Regions from separate parts of the Homo sapiens genome. Here all the other regions are linked to region 3. Evidence: promoter capture Hi-C in human tissues and cell types (Jung and others, 2019). All regions are on one chromosome and are shown on one strand. Each heading gives the region's core, a stretch centred on a gene start or on the middle of the fragment in contact. The rest is flanking DNA. Distances are from core to core; before and after follow the strand shown.

The links. The method cuts DNA at HindIII sites, captures the fragments that hold promoters and counts their contacts. A contact is called where the count stands out against the background at its distance.
Region 1: a fragment that was not itself captured here is called in contact with the fragment with the promoter of NRCAM in region 3 in 2 of the 25 tissues and cell types used here (dorsolateral prefrontal cortex and hippocampus).
Region 2: a fragment that was not itself captured here is called in contact with the fragment with the promoter of NRCAM in region 3 in 1 of the 25 tissues and cell types used here (neural progenitor cells).

The regions. Positions count from the first base shown.
Region 1 is chr7:108,408,373-108,412,037 of GRCh38, forward strand. The region is part of intron 1 of NRCAM (neuronal cell adhesion molecule); the gene reads right to left. Among named protein-coding and RNA genes, the nearest start is that of NRCAM, 46 kb to the right of the region's middle. The HindIII fragment of the contact is 4,327 bases long and covers 1-3,487 here.
Region 2 is chr7:108,513,845-108,517,481 of GRCh38, forward strand. PNPLA8 (patatin like domain 8, phospholipase A2) reads right to left here. Exons shown (of 11, transcript NM_001256007.3): 3 at 592-1,730; 4 at 300-449. The coding sequence starts at 1,647. Among named protein-coding and RNA genes, the nearest start is that of PNPLA8, 10 kb to the right of the region's middle. The HindIII fragment of the contact is 8,100 bases long and covers 1-3,637 here.
Region 3 is chr7:108,454,692-108,458,710 of GRCh38, forward strand. NRCAM (neuronal cell adhesion molecule) reads right to left here and starts at 1,745. Exons shown (of 33, transcript NM_001037132.4): 1 at 1,552-1,745. The HindIII fragment of the contact is 13,209 bases long and covers 1-4,019 here.

The DNA of each region.
Region 1 (3,665 bases), core at 74-2,573, 47 kb before region 3:
GTTGTGGCCCTATTTGGTGGTCATGGATTCTCTATGAGTGCCATTCAAATCCAGGAGGTTTTGCTCTATTTGCCAAGCTGCTGAGCTGGGCACAGGCTTTTTAGCAAGAATGTGAGAAAAGCTGTCCCGGAAAATTGGAAGCTTCCTGCCAGAGGGCACCATCCTCCCCTCCTGACATATGAGGTTCTATGCCAGTGTCTTCACATACAGATACCAAGACAGCTTCATATCCACAATAAAATAGCCAAAGCCTCTTATTAGGGAAAATTGATATTTAATATTAGCTCACATATGTCTTTACTCCGTTACTAATATGAAACTTTGAACATAATTAGTGTTGGCTTTGAATGCAGTTTGGAACTGCACCCAGCTGGAAAGGGGCCATGGAGCATTGGGTTTCATTCCTCACCAAGCTGAGCACTCCCTGAAAGGGATTAGAAGAGAAAGAAATGGAGCCGACCCTCATTCAGTAAGAAATGTCCTCCTTGGGTTCAGTGGGATGACTGTAGAGGCGGGGCGGGTAGGAGAACTGGGACTGTCACCCTCCTCAATTCCTTGTCGCCTCCTACCTCCACAAGGCATTGCAAAATGAAATTAGGTGAATGGAGCCCTTAAGCTGGGGAACGAGGGGTGTGACATATTCAGGGAGCTGTTTGTGTGAGGGAAGGCACAAAACACCTGCCTAGAAAGAGAAGGTGGCTGTGGAGTCTCACACGGCCCCAGAGGAGTGAGATTCACTTTGGTCACAGGATGGAGGCTAGGCAGGAATTTGAGGTTAGGTAGGATCAACGCGTGCAGAGCATTAAGAGAAATGTAACCTGCAAAAAGGTAGAATTTCCAGACTGCTGACCACTATCACTGCTTCAGCTAAAACAAAACAACATTGAATGTTTTTTCCTAAATAGAAATGGATGACATATTTTACATCCTGCATAGGAAGGAAAGTAAAGCCATCTGGCAACTTCCAATAACCAGCTCAATGCATTGCACCTCCCACTCCTACGAACAGTCTGTGACAGCCACACTTATACTAAAATCTAAAGCTTCTGACACTTCCTTCCCAAACTTCCCCATCTGTTCTGACATCTCCTGTTGACCTCTCTCCAGAGCCTCTTTAGATCTCTCCCTGGGTCACTCTTCAATTCCATTTTCACCCCGGTGCCATCTCGCGCATCACCCCAGTCTCCAGGCACCAGGCCTGAGGACAGGTCGCTCCTCCTTCATTCTGATGCCCAGCTCAGGGGTCCAAGACCCCATTTTGGGGGAGGAGGAGCATGATGGCTTCCCCCATGTTCTAATGGTTTCAACAGCATCTTATATGTAACCTGTAATAGACCCTTATTTTAGTAGTGAAAAATTAAAATTTAGCAAAATTTCCCCTGGCAAAAAAATTTCACACCCATAGAAGCTGTGAACACAAGGTTATGTTTACCTTGTTAGATAAAATAATATGCATAGACTTTTGAAGGACATCTAGATTCTAACACTATATCATAATTTGCAGTTCTAACTTCTAAATAAAAATTGTTTTGCATATTATATCTTTCTTTTTAAAAGGTTGTATTTGAATGATTGATTTCCCACTAAATCAAGCCAAATATGTGTCTCACCTTTGACTTATTCCTGCCACCACCTTGTTTGTTTTTAAATCATTACAAAAAGAAGAACCCTGAGCCATTAAAAACTATAGGCATACCCAGCAAATAGTTCCTGACTCAAGAGACTCTCAAATCAATATTCTTAAGTTGTATTTTAGTACAACTGCTGCAACTGTGCGGACCTCGAATTCAAGTTTAAAAACTTCATTAAAGTACAGATAGAAAAATATAAGCCCATATTAAATAGCCCTTGATTAAATTTGGGTGTTTCCTTATAATTCTAGTCACTATGACTGTATTTCACCCAATTTCTTATTAAGAATTGTCTTGTTATAGTGGTTGCAGTATGCATTGATACTCATCCCACAAACCTTTAAAACATTACAAGCCATTTCATAGAAAGACTAGGGGATAATTTTCTTGGACAAAAGATGAAGGTGAAATGTGAGAGTGCTCCTTAAATTTGATGGGTTTCTGGGAGTACAGTGGTTGCCAGTCCTCACTGTACATGAAACTCCCTGGGGCACTTTCAAAAACAGTTCTGATGCTTGGGCCCCAATCCCAGGGATTTAATTGGTCTGAGGTAGGGACTGGGCCTTGATCAATTTTTAAAGCTCAATCTAATATGCGTTAGAGGTAAACCTTCCCTGAAGGTAGATTTTACTTTAATACAGTACTAAGAACTTTGTAAGGAGAACTGTCCAAGGACAAAACAGGTCACCTCGTGAGGGTCAAGTCCTTTGTCACAGCAAGTGTGGAAGGGCAGCCTGTATGACTGAGCCCCTATCAGGGATAGTGGAGGAAGTGGTCCAGCATGGGGTGGTTCAGACCCTTGAAACTGATTTTTTCTATACTAGTTCTATCTTGGGTCAGTATTTAAGGTAAAGCAAGCAAAGAAAAACGCCTTGTTTGCTATGTCATCCTTGAAACAAAATAGTTTATATAACATCTTTCGTATCATCCCGATAAAACTTGTTAATTTGCACACAAAATCAAGCACAAAATTTTGTTCCATTTTCAGTTTTATTCTGTTTTTTTAAAAAAACTTTCCTTCTACAATGAATTGATTATATTCTAATTGTTGATACTTTTTCCAACTTTCCACTACTTCAGCCTATGAAAGGCCTTTTTTAATCAGTTGGCATTTATTTTTTCTTCAATTCATAAAAATAATTCCTCATCCCAAATGTTCTGTGAAATGTTATTAATATAGGACTACCTGTGGATTTCTCTCCAATTATCTTTTTTTTTCTTAAGCACTAACATGAAAATTTCCTCTAACCTTTCCTGGGAGATACATTTTGGCTTTTATTTAAAGGATGATACCCTTAAGGTTTTTTTCCTTCAAATTTAAATGCATGAATACTTGCAGGAGCTAACAGGATAAAAAGGAAAAGGTCCCTGAATGTCTCTATCATTAGGTTGGGATTTTTAAAGTTTTGCTTTTTGTTGTTTCTCTATAACTGGGTTGATGTTAATACTATATGCTATTTTACAACTTACTTTTTAAATGTTACAACATGTGTTGAGATTGTTCCATATCAGTAGACATGGGCCTAGATCTTTTCTATTTTTATAAAATAAAAATAAATACAATAAAAAGTAAGTGAGTGCAATGGCGTGATCTCAGCTCACTGCAACCTCTGCCTCCTGGGTTCAAGGGATTCTCCTGCCTCAGCCTCTTGAGTAGCTGGGATTACAGGTGTGCGCCACCACGCCCGGCTAATTTTTTTTGTATTTTTAGTAGAGACGGGGTTTCACCATGTTGGTCAGGCTGGTCTCGAACTCCCGACCTCGTGATCTGCCCGCCTCAGCCTTCCAAAGTGCTGGTATTACAGGCATAAGCCACCACACCCAGCCAGGCCTAGATCTTCTAACAGCTACACAGTATGGATGTACCTTAGTTTCGTAACCATTCCACTGTTGACAGTCCACTGTTGATAGGTACTTAAGTTGATCCATTTTCTTTAAGGAAACAAAACTACAGTAAACAATCTTGTAAATATGTTTATGTATACACAGATCCCCCAAAATGGAATTTTTGGTTCAATGATTATTTACAATTTA
Region 2 (3,637 bases), core at 262-2,761, 59 kb after region 3:
TACATTGCACTAAAGAAAAATCTGGCAGCTGTTAGGCAATTCAACTAATAAACTGATTATTTTCTATTTTATAAATGTTTAATTTCAAAGTATACATATTGGTGCTAACAAAATAAAATGAATTGATTAGCATAATGTATGTCACAAAATAAATAGGGTAATTACTGAATACACATCACATGTATAATAAAAACCACAAAATTCAAATGGAAAAATGAAAGGCTTTGCCTTCTCCATTTTAGATTTTTTTTAGTACTTCTATTCCAAGACAAAACTAGATTAAATAAATTAGAAATTACCTTGACAGCCACTCCTTTTCCTTCAGGAAATTCTAGAAGATGAAAAGTCAGTTCTTCAACCCTAGTAATGCAGAGCTTTGGGTCAGTTGTTCTTCTTAATGCCTGAACTAATGCCCGGGTCCTGTTATCAATACTCACCCTTGCGATAATCTACAAAGACATATTAAATAGATATGATTAGAATACAAAACTGCTCTAAAGAACAATGAAAGTTTCTTAGTTCTCATTAGGAAATAAAACTTATAAATTTGACAAAAAGTAATAGAACCGAAAAGCACACTGAACAACTTGCCTTTTCTCGCTGAAGAGATAAACGCTTTTTCTCCTCTGCATTTCTGTCTTTGCTGACAGCCTGATCAGTTTTAGCAGGCTCTTCCTGTTCTTCTGACTGACTCTTTGAATCATACTTTAATTTGGGGACAAGTCCACCAATATAACCACCTACTAAAGCTTGTACACCTTCCGTGGGACGAGAAAGAAAGTTAGCAATACTTTGTTTAGTTGAAACTTGAAGAACATCAGGTATCGCAGAAGGACTTGTAGGCTTGTCCACCGTATGTACAGATTCTGAGCCTGGCTTATAAGCCAGGATGCCAGGATCTGGAGATCTTAATTTCCCCTCTTCTACCTTTTTATCTTCAAGTTCTGATTTGTCCCGGAAATGTTCATTTTCCTTTTGTTGAGACATTTTTTCCTTACGTTTGAAATATGAATTAATATGATTTGATAAAAAGTAGAATGAGTCTCCAAATTTTGTGGTTATAGAACTTGTGTAATGAAAAAGACTGCGTTTACCTATATCTTCTTCTTTGTCTATAATGTGACTTTTCTCTTCTGGAAAAGGACTCTTTTCTGCTGATTTGTCACTATATTTTTTCAGAGATTTGATGGCTTGTTTGATGTTTTTCTGTTTTAACCAGCCACTATCCGATACTTTTCTTAAAATTTGGGAACTTGGCTTAAATTGAGCTAAACGTGAAATCATTTCATTTTGATTGCCAAAAACAGCCTTTGAAACAGAGTTCAAAGTACTTTTAATACGGGACATACAAATGTTCACTTTTGTAAGTCCCTTGGGAGCAGAAGTGCTAAGTTTCAAAATCCCAATATGTAAACCATGGTTGCTTGGAGAGTAACAGTGCTTACTGCAAGAATGTGCTTCACTTTTGGTCCATTTACATCTTATTATGTTTGTATGAAAACCTCTTTGTAGACTGATGTGGCTTATCCTCCAGTAATGCTTAGGTGAGAACAAGAAATACAGTTGCTTGCTTCTCTGCTTCCCACAAACACTTCTTGCATTACTAAGGAGGTAAATATATATATCTACAGTCAGATTAATAGACATAACTTAAAAATCATTTATTTTCTATGACATTCTCTCACTTCTTGAACGCTTCATTTAAGAAATGCCATAATTCATGGTCTTACCTGAAATGGCAAGAAAAAAAATTAGAATTCAAGTTAAAAATTGAAATTGGGTATAACAGAAAACACAAGACTATTTGGACTAAACTCAGCAAGCTGTCTCAAAAAAAGCAGACAAAATATTCCTATTATAGCTGATAGAAAATTCATTTTTAAGCTAATAGAAAATAATTCACTTTCAGTATAGAGGTAAATAAAAAAAGAAAATGAGGAATAGAATGTTTAGGGAGAAGAACTAATTTAGGGAAGTTTCCCAATAGATAAGTCTTCCGTTGCACAACACATAATTTAATATGCAATTTAGATACTATGCTTTTTTTTCCCTTCCTCATTGTTAAATTCTGGACTACTTTATGTGACACTAGACTTTAATTCCTTGAAGAAAAAGGTCAGGTCTTATACATTATTCATTGCAAACGATTTATAGAATACTTAATCTATACCAGACATGGTGCTAGATGCTGAAGCCACACAGTTACAGGATATGAAAGAATTTCCAGACTAGAGCTGCTGATAGCCATGTGAAAAAGATTTCACTACCTAAGTAATAAGTGCTCATTAAATCAAGTAAGTCAGGCTAGAAGAAACTACAGCATATAACATAGAAGGGGTTCTTAACCACTATGTAAAAAGAACACATACAAATAAGAAAAGAATAATCCAATTTAAAAATGTGGTATTGGTAAAAGAAAAGACAAATAGATCAATGGAACAGAATAGAGAGTCCAGAAACAGACCCAATTAAATACAGTTAATTGATCTTTGACAAAAGAGCAAAGGTAATACAATGGGGCAAAAATAGTCTTAACAAATGACAACTGACATCTGCATGCAAATTAATCTAGACACAGACTTTATACCTATCAAAAAAATTAACTCAAAACAGATTACAGATCTAAATGTAAAATGCAAATGTATAAAACTAGAATATAACATAGGAGAAAACTTAGATGACCTTAGGAATGGCAATGACTTTGAGACAATATCAAATGCACAATACACAAAAGAAAAAATTGGTAAGGTAGACTTCATTAATATTAAAAACTTCTGGCCAGGCGTGGTGGCTCACGCCTGTAATCCCAGCACTTTAGGAGGCTGAGGCAGGCAGATCACGAGGTCAGGAGTTCAAGACCAGCCTGGTCGGCATGGTGAAACCCCATCTCTACCAAAAATACAAAAAATTAGCTAGGCATGGTGGTGCACGTCGGTAATCTCAGCTACTCGGGTGGCTGAGGCAGAAGAATCACTTGAATCCAGGAGGCAGAGGTTACAGCGAGCCAAGATCGTGCCACTGCACTCCAGCCTGGGTGATAGAGCCAGGCTTTGTCTCAAAAACAAAACAAACAAAAAAAAAACCAACCTTCTGCTCTGTGAAGGTCAATGTCAAGAGAATAAGACAACGAGGCAGAGATTGGGAAAAAATATTTTCAACAGACATATCTGATAAAGAGCTGTCATCCGTAATATCCAAAGAACTCTTAAAGCTCGACAATAAGAAAACAAACTCAATTACAAATGTGCCAAAGGCCGTAACAGACACCTCATCAAAGGAGATATATAGATAACAAATAAACATATAAGAAGTTGTACCACATCATATGTCATCAGGAAAATGCAAACTAAAATAACCATGATACTACTACATATCTATTAGAATGGCCAGAATACAGAACATTGAGAACACTAAATGCTGGTGAGGATGTAAAGTAAAAGGAACTCTCACTCATTGCTGAAGAAAGACAAAATGGTACAGCCACTTTGAAAGATAGTTCGGTAGCTTCTTACAAAATTAAACATACTCTTAACATGACCCAGCAATGGTACTCCTCGATATTTACCCAAAGGAGCTGAAGACTAAGTCCATAATAAAATCTGCACGAGGATGTTTACAGAAGCCTTATTCATAATTG
Region 3 (4,019 bases), core at 495-2,994:
TTCAGAGGTTACTGTGTTCCTTTCCAGGACCACCCCAGGGGGAGCTCCTGGTGCACAACCAATGCTTCCTGCCTCATTACACTTGGCTCCATCTCCTCCTGCAAAAGCCTGGGGCGAGGAAGAGCCCAGTCTCTTAGACCCGCACTTCTGAGCGTTAACCATCTGGGACTCGGAAAGGAAAAGAAAGCTTTCTTCTCAGGACAGTTCTGCGCCGGTGGTAGCCAAGGGCTGGAGCCCCTGATGCGAAGAAAAGGGAAGGAGAGAGGCGGGGTGCGAAAGAAACGCCACCGCTCGGCGCCCTCCCTCGGTGCCCGCGGCGCAGGGGCCACCCGCCAGCGTACGGGGGACGAAGATGTGGCCGCGGGCGCGGGCGGGAGGGGAGGCGATCCGGGGAAGGAAGCGGCCTGTTCGCCAGCCCCGGGGCCCGGGGAGCCCTCCAGCAGCGCTTGCGGCCCTGAGGACACCGCTTTGGGAGAAATGACGACTCCCTTGCTCACCCTACTGCGACACCCCGTCCCCCTCCGCACTCTAGCAGATGCGGGCCGGGAGTAGCTGAGCTGGCCAACCGCCTGGGACCAGGATGCGGCAGCGCCCACCCGCGCGGCGTGGAGGGGGCCGGGGGCGGCGCTCGGCGCAGATGGCGCTCGCTGCGAGATGGATGCTCCAGGGCGGGTAATCACTCCTGGCTCAACACAGCATCCCGGGCGGAGCGGATGCCAGATCCCACCGCTAAGAGCCTGGGCTGGGAAAGCAATCTTTCCAGGCAGCCCCCAGCCCGGTGCGCCGGCCCCGACAAGTCCCAGCCCTCGGAGGCAGGGCGGGGCGCAGGGACTCCCGGGACCCGCACCTGTAAGGCCGACAAAGCCCCCGCAAGCGCCCCACCCCTCTGTCCTCCGTGTCTCTCTCGTTCCGCCTCGATTCCCCGAGCCCTCTCCAGGCAGCGACTGGAGAAGCGAAGTCGGCCTCGCCCCCGAACTCCGTGGTCAGCACAGGTGTACGCACTTCCGAACAAAGCCCACGCCCAGACGTGTCCGCAGGGGCCCGAACAGGCACACGCCCGTGCGCTCCCGGCCCGGCCCCCGCGCTCCTCGCCCCGCCGGCACTGTGGCGTGACGCCCCGCGCCTCCGTGTCCAAGCCCGGGAAGCCGCCGTGCCGGGCCCGCAGGCTCTCCATGCCCAACTGCCCACGAGCAAGAGCTCTGGGCAGGGCTTCCCGGAAAGCGTGGGGTGCGGGCGCGGAGCAGAAGTTGGCCACAGGCTGGAGGGGGTGGTGGGTGCCGGCGCTGCTGGATTTCAGCTGTGCCTTCACCCAAGCGCAGGTCCCCCTGCTCCCTCTCGGCGCCCGCGGGAGTGTCGGGGGCCTGCAGGGGAGAAGGGAGTTGGAGATCTGCTTTGCCCCTCCTGCAGCGCTGCCAGCCCGGTGAGCGCTCGGCTGAACCCCGCGGCGGTGTCCAAGTGACAACGCAGCAGCCTCGCGCGTCCTCCTCCGCTCCAGCCGTCACCCCCGAGCAGGACCCAGTGTCACCGCCAGACGCGCAAGGAGCTACTTACGTTCTCGCGCCGCGCCCTCCGCTCAGCTCTGGCGCGACTGCCCAGGACCCTGGACCGCCGGTGTCCTCCGTTCTCGACGAAGCTATCCCCTCTGGCTGCTCCAGCCAGGCGGCCCCTGCGCCGTCCCCCGCGCCCGCGCGTCTGAGGCTCGGACTGCGGCGCGCGTCCGCCAGCGACCCTGGCGAAGCGAGGCTGGCCCCGCGCCGGCGCGCGCCCCCGCCGCTCCCGCCCTCTCCGCTCCCCCTCCCCGCGCCGTGCTTTTGCCCCTCCCGGCTCTCCTTAGCGTCCTCCCGTCCCCCTCCCCCGCACTCCCTGCGGGCGTCCTCCGCCTCCTCCCCTCCTGGCCAACCCCCTCTTGCCCTGCTGCTGCGACGGCAGCGAATGGGCTCCAGCCGCCGGCGCCTCGAGGGACTGGGTGGCCCCTCACCTGAGCGGCCGCCCCACCGCCAACCTCCGTCAGCCTGCGAGCGCGTGTGGCGGCGGGGGTGGGGGTGCGGGGACGGAGGGCGGGAGTGTTCCGGGGCTAGGATGGCTGGGATTTAGCTACAAAAGATGTTCCAGAAAATGGGTAGTTTTTGAATGCCACTCTCATGGGTTTAGCTTTCTGTGGGAGGTCTGTGGTCTTCTAGTTTTTTCTTTTTTAAAAAGCACTTTCTTCGAAATTCATCAGTTGGGGTGGTTGAGATTGGGTGAGTGGTTTTGGGGGTTTTGTTTTGTTTTTGCAACCGTTCTTTCCAAACACTCCCCGCCGCCCCCCACCACCGCAGAAAAAAGAGCTTTTAGCATAAGGCGGATGCTATCTATCCGCGGTAGAAACTGGGTCTTCTGGTCCCAAGGAATAGGGTTAGTTCGGATTTGCTTATTTACAAATGGGGGAGTATTATGGAGATTTTTTTTTTTTTTTTTTGGCAATGTAAATCGAGAATTAAGATTTTCCAACTGTATAGTATTTGAGTAAACACACTGCTTGCTGCATAGTTCAGGCTCCGAAGCGCACGTCTCCACTCTATCGTGGATGGTGTTCAGGATCCTTAGCCTGACCCTTGGGTCCTCCGTAATCTACTCCGGTCTGCACACAAATTACTTGTCTGCTGGGTATCACCCGACTTGACCACTTACAGCAGGCTCCAGCGCTTAGTGAGCTCAGCGGAGCCTTGATTCCTTCAGTTCTCTAATTCAGGAAAACATTTTCTGAGCTCCTCACCACCCCACCCCACCTCACCACCTCCTCCACCCCCAGCCTCCAAGGTGCTGGGGCAAGATTCAGGAATGAAAAAGAAACAGGTTCATCCTTCAAGGTCTTGACTACCCCAGTGGTCTGTTCTAACTTCAATTTGAACTTGCCCCGTCAGCTCACAGCATCTGCATGCAAGTGAGCAGCCTTCTTTTCCTTCTCCTTCTACTGCCATCCTCTCCTCCTTCTCCAGCCAAATGTGCTCTGGCCTCACAGAGCCTCCCTCGGTTCCTGAACCAGCATGATATCTGGCTGCTGGGTCATTGCACAAGTTGTTTCCACAGTCCCATCAGTGGTTCTTCTGACTCTAGTCCTTACCCAACTGCCATTCAGGTGGTACCTTGCACCTCTCAACTAATTGTCCAAATTTTCCTCTAAAATACCTTCCCCCCCGCAAAAAAAAAGATTCCATGATCCCCCTACTTGAAAGTCTGGGCTGGTGGGCTGGTTCTCTATTGCCTACAAAGTAAATTCCACATCTCCTGGTGTGCCTCTTTACAATCTGCTCCTAACTTATCTCTCCATTTTCCATAACTCTAAGCCTCTGCATGTGAGGTTCCTCCTAGCTAGAATATTGGTCCATCTCTTTTTCATTTGGCAAACTCTTGTTCATCCTTCAGAGCCTTACTTGGTTGTTACCTCCTCTGTAAGGACTATTATAATAGTGCTGGTCACCTTTTAATGATCTGTTTGCATGTCTGACTCCATAAAATTTCACTTCTTTGAGGACAATTTGTCTTATTTATTTTTGTGTAACCACATTTCTCATCAATACAAATGAAGCCACAGATAACCATAATCAACTCTCACTGCCCCATCATTTTGCCCTGTGTAAAGGACTTGAGGCCCCTCCGTTCCTTCCCCACTGCAGTAATTGCTGAGAATCCTGGGGTTGTCTTGCCTGTCCTTCCCATGTCCTTCTACTTCGTACTCTGGTTTTCCAAGATTGCCCCTCACCCCGGCCACTGAGAAACATTGATTTCTGGTCCACATTATTTTCCAGTGAATGCCACAGGGCAAACCTGTCAAGTGGGAAAATGACACCCTACTCTCTTCAGTTCTTGCCCTGGTTCTGTGTAGTAATTTATCCCCCGGGCACTGAAGCAACATTGCTTGTGTCTTCCTGTGTTACAATCTCATAAAGACCCTCTTTAAACAGCTCCTTGAACTTCTGCTTAGAATTGTTCTTTCTCTTCAGGCTCCAGTCCTGGTCTATGAAGCCAGGTTGAGGCAG